Regions from separate parts of the Homo sapiens genome. Here all the other regions are linked to region 1. Evidence: promoter capture Hi-C in human tissues and cell types (Jung and others, 2019). All regions are on one chromosome and are shown on one strand. Each heading gives the region's core, a stretch centred on a gene start or on the middle of the fragment in contact. The rest is flanking DNA. Distances are from core to core; before and after follow the strand shown.

Region 1 (4,098 bases), core at 1,036-3,535:
AGGGTATCTCTGGAGATGGAAAGAGGAGGGCCCACTGGAAATACATTCCCGAGGTAGAAGCTGCAACACTAAATTAGGAAGTGTGTTGGGGGATAAAAGAAATAGAATAATTCTTGAGGCCTGAGGGTGAAACACCAGGTGGACAGGGATACCATCGGTGAGATGGGGATACTGGGGGAATGGGTGCCCCGCCTGTGGCCGTGGAAATTTTACATTCTTTCTCTATCCTAAGCCTTCTTCCAAGTAACTGAGACACTGCACCTTACATTATTTTTGGCAGATGGCATACTAACAAAACAATTAAACTAACGAAATAAGGTCAAGGCCAAAACTCAAAAGCGGGAGAGGCAACAAAGACTTCCTTAAAGGCCAGACACCATCAACCATTAATCAAAATTCTGAGCACTGCTGTTATCCAACTACAAATCTGCATACCTGGGTCATGGTGCAGCCAACATCTCTCCAGCAGCCCACAAAGGCCCATGAGGTGTGCGAAAGCTCGCTGAAACGCCTGTTGGTCACCAACGTTTCCGTAATGTGCACGTGTGTTAACTCTACCAAGTGCAATCACGACAAGAATTCCTGGTTTGGTGTGGCCTATGAATAAGTTTACATTGATTCCTACCCATTACCTCTTTCTTCCTAAACACAAAATTAACACAATCCTTTGTAGTTTCCAGGCCCGACCTTTCTCTGGGGCACCTGTGTTGTTTGGTCACAAGCTCTTTAATGAGCCTCAGTTTACTCATCCCCAAGAAAAGGGGAACACTTGAGTCACTAAGCTAAACAGTTAAATAAAAATCAACGGCAGTCAAGGTATAACCCACCGACTCCCATAGGGAGTCCTAGGCGCCCACTCCCCCTTAGAACCCCCTTCAAAACCCTTTCCAAACGCGGAGCGCCGCTCCAGTTGCACGGGTGACCAGGACCAGGGACCAGGCCTGCAGGGGGAGACTCGCGTCCAAGGCCGCACGGGAACCACGGCGCCCGCGAGAAAAAGCGCGGCGCCCCCTACCCCACTGCCCTCGACCTGGGAACCGCGGCACCGGCGAGTGCGCCCCGATCCCCCTGCGCAGGAAAGTCCGTTCCTCAAGCTCCGGGCTGGGGCTTTGGAAGGCAAGTCAATTCCTGACTGCTGGAAGGGCCAGGGTCTGGGGGTGCCCGGTTGTGTGTCTGCCTGCTCTTAAATTCTGGGCCTTTCTCCTTCCTTGGAAAACAAAATCTGAGTTATTTCATGACTTTAGCAAAGTACCATGGAGAATAAATTACTGGGGAAAACACTTCCTGACGCCTACTGTGTGCACGATCTAGCGCTCCCCACATAACACTGATGCCTACTGTATGCACGACCCACAGCGCTCTCCAGAAGCTCCAGGTTCAAGCTACCCGGATCACAATGGTGCCTACTGTTTGCACGACCCACAGCGCTCTCCAGATGCCCAGGGTTCCAGCCCCCCGGATCACAATGGCGCCTACTGTATGCACTACCCACAGCGTCTGCAGAGGCTCAGGGTTCAAGTTCCCGGATCACAATGGCGCCTACTGTATGCACGCCCCACAGCGCGCCCCAGATAACACTGGAGCACACTGTGTGCACGACCCTGCGCTTCCCGGACAACGCTGGCGCCTACTGTGTGCACGACCCCGCGCTCCACGGCCTCCCTGTGGGCCGAGCCCAACGTCCCCGGGGCAGCCGGCGCCGCGCAGGGTCGGGCGGGGGCGCCGTCCGGGAGGAGCCCGGGGCGCGGTATCCGCAGGCCCGGGCTCTGGCCAGGCCGCCTCCCCAGCGCGCCCCGCGGCCCTCCGGCCCCGGGACGGAACACGGGGCGGCCACTTTCCCTCAAGTTCAGCGCGGGCCGCGGCAGGGCCAGCGGGGGCAGGGCGCGCGCAGGAGGCGGCCGCCTGCTCCCTCACCCGCCTCCCGCCTCCCGCCTCAGCCGCCGCCCGGCCCAGGAAAGTAGGCCCAGCGCGCGGAGGGGCCGGGCGGCGACTCGCCCGTATCATTCCGCCCGCGCTGCGGCCCGCCCGGCCAGTCGGCGGCGGCGGCGGCCCGGGTCTGCGCGGCCCCCGCCCCCGCCCCGCCGCTCCCGGCGCCCCCCGCGCCGCATCCGGGGACTGGCAGGGCGCGGGCCCCGCACCGGCCGCCGGCGGGGCGCGAGGGCGCGGCCGCGGGCCTTACCGGAGTCGCCGCGCGCCTTGCTCTCCCTGGGCTTCGGGGGGCGGCCCCGCGGCATCGTCGGCGGCCCGGCTCGCACCCACACCCACTCACACTCACACTCACACTCACACGCGGCGGCGGGGGCGCGCACGCGCGGGCACCGGGGCGGGGGCGCGCCCAGCCGGCGCTAGAGGCGGGCGGAGCTGCCCGGCGGCGGGCGGCCCGGTCCGAGCGCCGCCGGGCTCACGGGGGAAAGGCGCCTGAACGCGCGCACCGGAGCGCTCGAACCGCGCCGGCCTTGGCAGGTTCCATGGCCCGCGGGCCGCGGTGGGGGCGTTGGGCGCGGGCGCGGGCGCGGTGGGGGCGGGGGCGGCGGCGGGGCGCATGCGCGGCGCCGCGGGGCCTTAGCGGACGGAGGGGAGCGCGGGGGTCACCGGGCCGGGCCGGCAGCCCTAGAGCTCGGCCTGGCGGGGACCCTGGGCCAGCCCCGCGCCTCCGTGGCCCGGGCGTCTCGTGCGTGTCCGCGAACTCGCGTGCGCGCGTCACCTCGGACCGCAGCATGGCTCGGAGGGCGGCCCTACTCGCGCCGCCCTAGTGCTGCGAAGGGCCTCGGAGCCCAAACCCGGAACCGCCATCTGGGACTGGGAAGACGACATGGCCAGAAGCCGGTAATGTTCCTTTCCCTGGGGGCAGTGCATTAAAATGGACCATTTCACGTGTGCTGGTCTTGTGTGTTGTTGCCTGCGCTAACTTACACGAAGTGGCAACAGGAACAGGCAGCGCAGCACCCGAGCGCCGGGTGGAGAGGCCGGCCGAGCCCGGGGAAAGCGACCTTACTCTGTCACCTGGGCTGGAGTGCAGTGGCGCAAATTAAAGTGTGCAGTTTGATACATCTTGACACATGTATACACTGTGAAACCATCATCACAATCAACAGTGAAGATGTTCCTCCCGTCTCTCTGTAACCCTTTCCTCTCTCCCTCCTTCCCTCCTCCCCCTCCCACCCATCTGCTTTTTGTCACTATAGTTTGAATTTCCTGGAGTTTTTAAATATCTTTTTATACAGACTGGGTCTCGCTTGCTCTGTCACCCAGGCGGGAGTGCAGTGACACGATCGGGACCCACTGTAGCCTCAAACTCCTGCCCTTAAGCAATCCAACTGCTTCAGCCTCCCGAGTAGCTGAGACTGCAGGTGAGGACCGCCATGTCTAGCTTTTTGTTTTTTTTTAAACATATGGGGTCTCTCTGTGTTGCCCAGCCTGCTCTGGAACTCCTAGCTTCAATTGACCCTCTGCCTCAGCCTCCCAAAGTGTTGGGATTGCAGATGTGAGCCACTGTGCCCAACCTGTTTTTCTTGGTGTTTTATATAAATGGAATTGTATCGCACGTAATCTTTAGGGAAGTGGGGGCTGTTCATTGAGCATAATTATGTTGGAATTCATCTATATATTGATAAATATTTTAAGTGCTTTTTATTGCTGAGCGGTGTCTAGGAGTCATTCTTGCTTACCCTTTCCCACTGCAGCCTTCACTCAATCTCATCAAAGATCTAGCTCCAATATATAAACCAAATCCAAGCCATTCCCACGTATATTACCCCTGAGCCATGCTCTCTCACCTAGATTACAGATACAGCCTAGTACCTGGTCATCCTCCAATCAGTTTTGTCTACAGCCATGCGAGTCTTCTCTCTATGCCTTAAATAAGACAAATGTATTCCAGCTCTTTTGAATATTTCCAATTGTGAAATGTTCCTCTTTATTTCTAATAATGCTTGCTATTGTCAACTTTGCCTCATATGTAAATAACACCACCAGCTTTCTTTCCTGTGTGTACCTTTAGAGTTAAGTGAGTTTAAGAAGTGTGTGTGTGGCCGGGCGCGGTGGCTCACGCCTGTAATGCCAGCACTTTGAGAGGCCGAGGCGGGCGGATTACGAGGT
Region 2 (4,196 bases), core at 539-3,038, 170 kb before region 1:
AAACAGTTGCTGCTCACTGCATTCTTTGTTCTGTATGAGGACCACCAATAAACCAACTGCCTTTTTCATAGACATTTCTGACCCCCGATAATAGCTCCAAGAGCTCAAATAAAACCTACCAACATCATGTGTACCTTAAAAGATTTAAACTACCTTTTCCTCACCAGTGTAGTGATCAATATATTCATTATAACAGTCACCTTCAAAAATATATCATTTTTCTTTTATCATTCAAAGCAAGTATTCATAATTCACATGTGAAGCATTATCTATGTAATGCTCCGTTGAATCTCTGACAGCATGGTAAGTTGTAAAATCCTCTGAGATCTGCATAGCGTGACTGAGCATTCATTTCTTTAGAAACCTAACCTAACCCTAAGTTTTTTCTTTAGAAACTTAAAAAGTTTAAGTCATTTTTCTAGTTTAATCACAGGATGAGTGATTTAAAGGCCAGAAATGTTTATGTGACTCAAAAACCAAAGTTCAGCATGTAGAGAAATGGAGAAATGCTATCCAAACACCGAGGCGGTGTGGCTTGCCCTGGACTGTGAGCTGTTTCAGTGATTTCAGGCCACTGGAGTAGGAGCTAATAAGTAACTTCGTCTGGTAGACACAGCACTTAAAGATGTACGTCTTACAGTTTAAAGAGTTTCCCGTCTCTTCCATTTTGTTTTTTGATTCACGATTTCACACCCCCTCTCATGGAGGAGAAGAACGTACAAGGCTGGTTAGTGGTGACTAAATACAACTGGTCACTGAACGCAGAGAAGCATTCGATAAAATATTACATGACACAAGGAGAATCAGAGAATTACTTGAGTTCTTGCAGCATTCATAGACAGAATGAGTTGGAATATGAAGAATCAGGGATTTCTACTAGGACTCCGATGTTCCTGGCCCTTCTGACATCCTCACGTTCAAAGGCCCACGGCACCTGCCTGGGAGGAAACTGAGCGTGCAAACTCCACTCCTCTGTGTGTGAGAAGGTGGAGGTGTCAGTAAACAGAGGGGTACCCGCCATGAAGCGCCGGCCACAGGCAGAGCGCCAGTGGCCTTCTGTGAAGAGTATGGGAGCTGCGCTCTGTGCCTGAGGGAGGTTGACAGTCTCATCAGGAATGAGAATCGTTAACCAACGAGGGCACAAAATAGGAAAAACAACTAGGAAAATATGGAGTTGCTGATTACTAAGAAATCCAAGGGATAAAATGGGATCTTTTGTTTTTTTTTTTTTTTTTTGGAGACAAAGTCTCGCTCTGTCGCCCAGGCTGAAGTGCAGTGGTGCAATCTCAGCTCACTGCAACCTCCGCCTCAGAGGTTCAAGCAATTCTCCTGCCTCAGCCCCCTGAAGCTGGGACTATAGGCACACGACGCCAAGCCTGGCTAATTTTTTGTATTTTAGTAGAGAGGGGTTTCACCATATTGCCCAGGGTGGTCTCGAACTCCTGACCTCAGGCAATCTGCCCGCCTCGGCCTCCCAAAGTGCTAGGATTACAGGCACGAGCCACCACACCCAGCCAAAATGGGATCCCTCTTTCATTCCTCATGCATTCAAAACCTCTCAGGCAGGAATTTTGTCTGCTTCACTTTTGTGGTATTTTCAGAACGTGGACCATGCCTGGCCCCTGGCATTTAGTTGGGAAGTAATGAGGCCCAGTGCAGAGAAGGACAAGCAGCTCATGGTTACGCCCTGCTGTGCCTGCAACTCTGTCACAGGGGAGGCCACGAGCAAGGGGTGCAGAAAACAGAGCTCGCAGTGCTGAGTAGGCCCTATGCATGGGAGATGCCTTTGCCCTGGGCCCTGCGGAGGTTTCAGACAGATGGGAGAAGGAAGGGCCTTGTGGACAGAAAGGACCCTGCACAAGGCCCAGGGCAGAGGATGCACAGCCCATCCACATGGAAGATGGTCGGGGCCAGGGCATAGGGGCACAGCCCAGGGCAGGGGATGGATGCTCAGCAGCCAGGGCAAGTGGGAGGAGAGCTGGGGCTGGGGCTCTGGCTCCTGGCAGGGCTGCAGCCAGAGGGAAGGGCCCTCAGAAGCACCCAGAATAACAGGGCTCCTGCTGCAGGCAAGGGCGGCCACAGGACACTGGAAGGAGAGGGACATCCATGTTGCTTCTGTTTCCCGAAGCTTGCTCTGCTCTGGGTGCTGAATGCTGGGAAGGTGGACAGGAAGCCTCACCACGTTAGGGCCCAGGGGACAAAGAGCTTTGGCTTCACCCTGAAGGGTGGGCAGGGCAGGGAGCCTCACAGGCAGCAGGGGAGCTGTTAGTAGTCTGGGGGTGAGGGCAAGAAACGTTTAAAGAAGGGGTCCCCAGCCCCCAGGCCCTGGACCGGTACCGCTCTGTGGCCTGTTAGAAACCGAGGTGCACAGCAGGAGGTGAGCAGCGGGCGAGTGAGATTATCTCCTGAGCTCTGCCTCCTGTCAGGCCAGCGGCACCAGATTCCTATAGGAGAGCAAACCCTACTGGGAATGGCATGTTCGAGGGATCGAGGTTGTGCACTCCTTATGGGAATCTAATGCCTGATGATCTGAGGTGGAACAGTTTCATCCCAAAAACGTTCCCCTACCCACCCCCATCCATGGAAAAACTGTCTTCCACAAAACCCATCCCTGGTGCCAAAAAGGTTGGGAACCGCTGCTTTGAAGAGGATCGAGTAGGGAAGGAGGGCAGAGGAAAGAGTCCAGTGCCAGCAAAACTTCAGACCTGATGTGTGCCGTGTGGAGACCCCCGTCTGGGCTCAGACACAGAGGTGAACAATGTCGGTGCTGGGCGAAACGCAGCACACTCTGCAAACATTGTCCTTTGTGGCTGCAGCATGCAGTTGTCACCCACTGAATTCCACCATTCCGTGCACTACCATAAATCCCAGAAAAGCGCACTTTTCAGGGCGAGTTAGGCCTTTGGTGGCAAAACTGTCTTCTGAACAACAAGGGGTCCTCCCAATCAATGTGCATAGAGCTGACAGACTGGAGGGAAATACTTCAATTGACTTCCGTGCATTTAACTGATTTGCTTCCGCTGCGTTCTGTGTCGACGGGGCGCAGCCAGCATGCCTGGGGCCAGAGCTCCTCTGACCTCCAGAAATTCATTCCTGCCTGAGGTGTGGGCTCTTTACATGCAGGCTATTTCTGAACAAGTAGCATCTGGGAGCAGCAGTGAGAAAGCGAGGGGAAAACTGACAAAATCAATCTCGCAAGCTCCCCCGAGTCCCTTTCCTTTGCTTTTCTGAGAACTCACAATCAGCCCTCTTGCCTGGTGCGCATTCACCGCTGTTGGGCCTTTGCAGTTGAGCTGAGAGCCGAGCAGACAATGCATGAAGTCTGCAAAAGCCGCAGCATCCCCTGCGTCGCCTATGTCCCCTGTGTCACCTGCCCCCATGTCCCCTGTGTTCCCCTGCCCCCGGGCGCTCATGGCTTTTCCCTTCCCTCCACTGTGAGCTAACCTCTCGCAGTGCTTACCACTCTGTATCTTCTGTGCGATCTCTAGTGACCTGGAGTGTTCTGGTTCTGTTGATTACCAGCTGGCCCTGGGCACTCATGCCCAGCCATTCTTCCCTCTCCGCTTCCTCTTACTCGAGATGTGGAAGTGATATTCCCAAATCAGCCCGGTGTCAGTGTGGCGTGAGACACTTACTTTGAGAAGCAGAGACCAGCTCATGTTATGCAGCCGCGTCAAAGCCCATGAGCTGCCTGCCTCATGCTGTTGTGTGTTTTTCTGTGTGTATTTCCCGAGCATTTTCCTGTATTCAGCCCAGAAGCCTGGGGATAAGTAATATTTTTCTCTCAGTGCTTTGCCCAACCTGACCCTATCTCAGATGGAATCCCCCTTGAATTACCGTCACTTCCCCTCTATTTGCTTGTTCACCTTCAGGAGAGCCGCACACTGAGTCGGTGATAGAAATCTCTCCCCAGCAAGTCGCACACCCAAACCCGCTGCTGCCAGCCCGTAGCTGCCCCAGGTGTGTCTGGTGGCTCATCTGTGGCTTCCTAGTAGAAGCCCTTAAAAAATCCAGATCACTAGTTGTACACCTGTCAACCTACCATCCTACACGCACACACAAACAAGCACACACACACCCTAATTTGCATAGACAAAGTTTAAAAGGTGACAAAGACACTCTCCTTGACTGAACTTTAGACAGGCTCTTCTAAGCCCTCTTTTCAACTAAGCCTCCTCCATGGGCCTTGTCCTCAA
Region 3 (3,830 bases), core at 1,331-3,830, 190 kb before region 1:
CAAGGACCTTCCTGCTGACCCAAGCCCTCTCTGCTTTCCTGTTCTCTTGCCTGATGTGAAGTTGCACATTGCATGAGTTGGGGCTGCCAAGACAAATTACCATATGCTGGGGGCTTCAAACTACAGGAATTCTTCTGTGACCATTGTGAAGGCCAGAAAGCTCAAGTTGAGATGTCTGCAGAGCCCTGCTTCCCCCGAAGGCTCTACAGGAGAATTTGCTCCATGTCTCTTACTCCTGGTGGTGCCAGAAGTGCTTGGTGTTCTGAGGTTTGTAGATGCCCCCCTCCAGGCTCCTCCTCCATCTTCACACCTCTCCCCTGTGCATCTGTGGCTGTGTCCAAACTGCTCTCTTCTTACAAGGACACCAGTGATTGGAGTAGGGCCCACCCTACTGCAGAATGACCTCATCTTCACTTGATTCCACCTGCAAAGATCTATTTCCAAATAAGGTCACACTCACAGGTACAGAAGTTAGGACATGGACATATCATTTGGAGGGATACTATTCAATCCATAACATACATTTTCACCTGCTTTCCCCACTAGAATGTAGGTTTCACGAGGACAAGGACCTCGTGAATTACAATCACTGTAACTCAGATATTTAGAATGGTACATTACACCTATTTGGTACTCATAAATAATGGATGGATGGATGGATGGATGGATGGATGGATGGATGGATGGATGGATGAACAGGTAGGTAAATAGATGGATACATGAGTGGATGGATGGATGGATGGATGGATGGATGGATGGATGAATGGATAGATGGATGGATGAACAGGTAGGTAAATGGATGAATACATGAGTGGATGGATGGATGGATGGATGGATGGATGGATGGATGGATGGATGGATAGATGGATGAGTGGATGGATGGATGGGTGGATATATGGATGGATGGATGGATAGATGGATAAATGGGTAAATGGACTGATATGTGGATGGATGGATGGATGGATGGATGGATGGATGAGTGGATAGATGGAGGGGTGGATGGATGGATGAATGGATGTATGAGTGGATGGGGGATGGATGGAATGGATGGATAGATGGATAAATGGGTAAATGGACTGATATGTGGATGGATGGATGGATGGATGGATGGATGAGTGGATAGATGGAGGGGTGGGTGGATGGATGAATGGATGGATGAGTGGATGGGGGATGGATAGATGGATGGGTAGGTGGGTGTGTGTATGGATGGATGGATAGATGGATGGATGGGTAAATGGACTGATATGTGGATGGATGGATGACGAATGGATGAATTGATGGATGCATGCATGCATGAGTGGATAGATGGTGGGTGGGTGGATGGATGAGTGGATGGGGGATGGATGGATGGATGGGTAGGTGGGTATGTGTATGGATGGATGGATAGATGGATGGATGAGTAAATGGACTGATATGTGGATGGATGGATGCATGAGTGGATGGATGGATGAGTGGATAGATGGAGGGGTGGGTGGATGGGTGAACGGATGGATGAGTGGATGGGGGATGGATGGATGCATGGATGGATGGATGGGTAGGTGGGTGTGTGTATGGATGGATGGATAGATGGATGGATGGGTAAATGGACTGTTATGTGGATGGATGGATGAATGGATAGAGAGATAGATGGATGACTGGTATTACAGGAATATGTGAGTGAATCCTGTTTTCTGTAGATAAGTAATAGAGTTTGGAGAGGAAACTAACTAAATGATATTTATTTAAACCTAACACTCTAACTTGAAAGCAAAATGGATTCATTGCCCTTCGTGACAGAAATGTGGTATTTTTTGGAGAAAGCTATGAGATGCTGGTATACAACATGAAATATCTCAATCCCACTTCAGATTTCTAATTGTTTCTGCTTCCAGAGGAGAAGCCAAGTCAAAATGTCCTGAATAAGCAGTTCTCTATTGTGAGAGGCCTCTTGTGGAATCTGGGATTGAAACAATTCTAAATGCCCCACTTCTTTCATGCATGAATTGCAAAAAGATGTGGCAAGTTTTGTTTCTACCAAGAAAACTAAAAACACCTTTTGTCAAATAAATGCTCCTTGCATATTTAACTTATGCACCAGTGGCCTTTTAAACAGTCAATGTCCCATCAAGGTGCCTGCACATCTGGGCTCTCCGGGAGCAGCCATGGCAGCACCCGGGAAGAAACGCTGATGTGGCTGCTCTGCATGCTCAGATGACTTCATCGGGAAGCCTGGGTGCATTTTACGCTGGGTGCCAAATCTCGAGTAACTGAGGAATTCCCAGAGCCTTCTGAAACACAGAGCTGCAATAAGGCTGCTCCATCCAGGTTAGCTCCATCCTAGGCCAAGGGCTTTATGAGGACTGCACATATTCTGTGGGTTTTATAGGAGACAGCTAGGTCAAGACCCCTCAGAGAAAGCTGCTTTGTCCGGTGCTCAGCTTTGCACAGGCCCGTATTCATATCTCATTGTTGTTTGCAGGAGAGGCAGATGCGAACCAGAACAATGGGACCTCCTCTCAGGACACAGCGGTGACTGACTCCAAGCGCACAGCGGACCCGAAGAATGCCTGGCAGGATGCCCACCCAGCTGACCCAGGGAGCCGCCCCCACTTGATCCGCCTCTTTTCCCGAGATGCCCCGGGGAGGGAGGACAACACCTTCAAAGACAGGCCCTCTGAGTCCGACGAGCTCCAGACCATCCAAGAAGACAGTGCAGCCACCTCCGAGAGCCTGGATGTGATGGCGTCACAGAAGAGACCCTCCCAGAGGCACGGATCCAAGTACCTGGCCACAGCAAGTACCATGGACCATGCCAGGCATGGCTTCCTCCCAAGGCACAGAGACACGGGCATCCTTGACTCCATCGGGCGCTTCTTTGGCGGTGACAGGGGTGCGCCCAAGCGGGGCTCTGGCAAGGTGAGCTCTGAGGAGTAGAGGAGTTTTAGTTTAAATGGAAAAAGCAAAGGAGAAATCAGTAGGTGAACTCAGCCATTAGAGGAAGAACTGGCACGTAGCCTCTTGCTGTCTAAGGTCTCGTTCCGTGCTGGAGAATGCATATGAGCCCAAGAGTGTGGGCCTGAGTGGCTGCTTAGGACGTTTTCGTTTAACTCACCCCCTCTTTTCCTCACAAGGGATGGTGGCCGGGGTGTGGCTCAGGAATGTAAGGACATGCTGAATTCTGGATCTCTAAGGGTGCCTGGACATGGGCGTTGCAGAAAGAGAGCCACATTCTCAGGGTCTCTGGTGGTGTGTGCTTGCGGACTTGATGACTGATGTTGCCTCTGCAGCCCACACGCTGGGGTTCAACACTGGGTTATGCTCGTTTTTTCCTGGAGTCAGTGCTGCTAGCTTCATGTTGCTCTGCGACAATCATAGGATTGAGGTCGAGGAAGACTTTTGAACAAACTCCTCAATTTAAATCCGCCTTGAGCAAACGTTCTCTGTGGTCTGAGAAGTGGAAGGGGGGAGGGATAAATGAGTGTCTATGAATCAAAGCTTTATTATCTTGTGATTCCATTAATTTGCATACAGAGTCTTAGAAGTTTCTTTATTCAAAAGCAAATGTGGATAAAAATGTATTACAAAAAAAAAAAACTCTGCTATGGGGTCCAGAGTCTAGGAGTGGTTTCTGCAGTTGATTGTCAGTGGAGAACCTGTGGCTGCTGGTTCATCAAAGCGCTGGTCCCTGAGTGCCATTCAGATTGCAGATGCAGTATTTTACGTGATGTTTAGAGTGTTTGGTGGTTGTGTAATTTTGGAGAGAAAGAAGTTTTTCCCAAAAAAGTCCCTAGTTTATTGGGTGTTCTCACACAACCTGTAAGATGAAGCTGTTTTTCTGCCTGTGTGCAGGG

Evidence for each region. Contacts are between HindIII fragments. The study calls those that stand out against the background at their distance.
Region 2: a fragment that was not itself captured here is called in contact with the fragment with the promoter of ZNF236 in region 1 in 2 of the 25 tissues and cell types used here (lymphoblastoid cells and mesendoderm cells).
Region 3: a contact is called between a fragment that was not itself captured here and the fragment with the promoter of ZNF236 in region 1, in 5 of the 25 tissues and cell types used here (H1 embryonic stem cells, IMR-90 fibroblasts, hippocampus and 2 more).

The regions. Positions count from the first base shown.
Region 1 is chr18:76,820,744-76,824,841 of GRCh38, reverse strand. ZNF236 (zinc finger protein 236) reads right to left here and starts at 2,285. Exons shown (of 31, transcript NM_001306089.2): 1 at 2,180-2,285. The coding sequence starts at 2,234. It overlaps ZNF236-DT (ZNF236 divergent transcript), which reads left to right and starts at 2,547. Exons shown (of 3, transcript NR_040024.1): 1 at 2,547-2,826. RefSeq lists silencers at 1,654-2,393, 2,514-2,703 and enhancers at 2,774-2,883, 2,924-3,003. The HindIII fragment of the contact is 16,105 bases long and covers 1-4,098 here.
Region 2 is chr18:76,990,591-76,994,786 of GRCh38, reverse strand. All of the region lies in intron 4 of MBP (myelin basic protein), which reads left to right. Among named protein-coding and RNA genes, the nearest start is that of MBP-AS1, 12 kb to the right of the region's middle. RefSeq lists an enhancer at 1,430-2,002. The HindIII fragment of the contact is 9,676 bases long and covers 1-4,196 here.
Region 3 is chr18:77,015,897-77,019,726 of GRCh38, reverse strand. MBP (myelin basic protein) reads left to right here. Exons shown (of 9, transcript NM_001025101.2): 4 at 2,459-2,895. Among named protein-coding and RNA genes, the nearest start is that of MBP-AS1, 37 kb to the right of the region's middle. The HindIII fragment of the contact is 4,409 bases long and covers 376-3,830 here.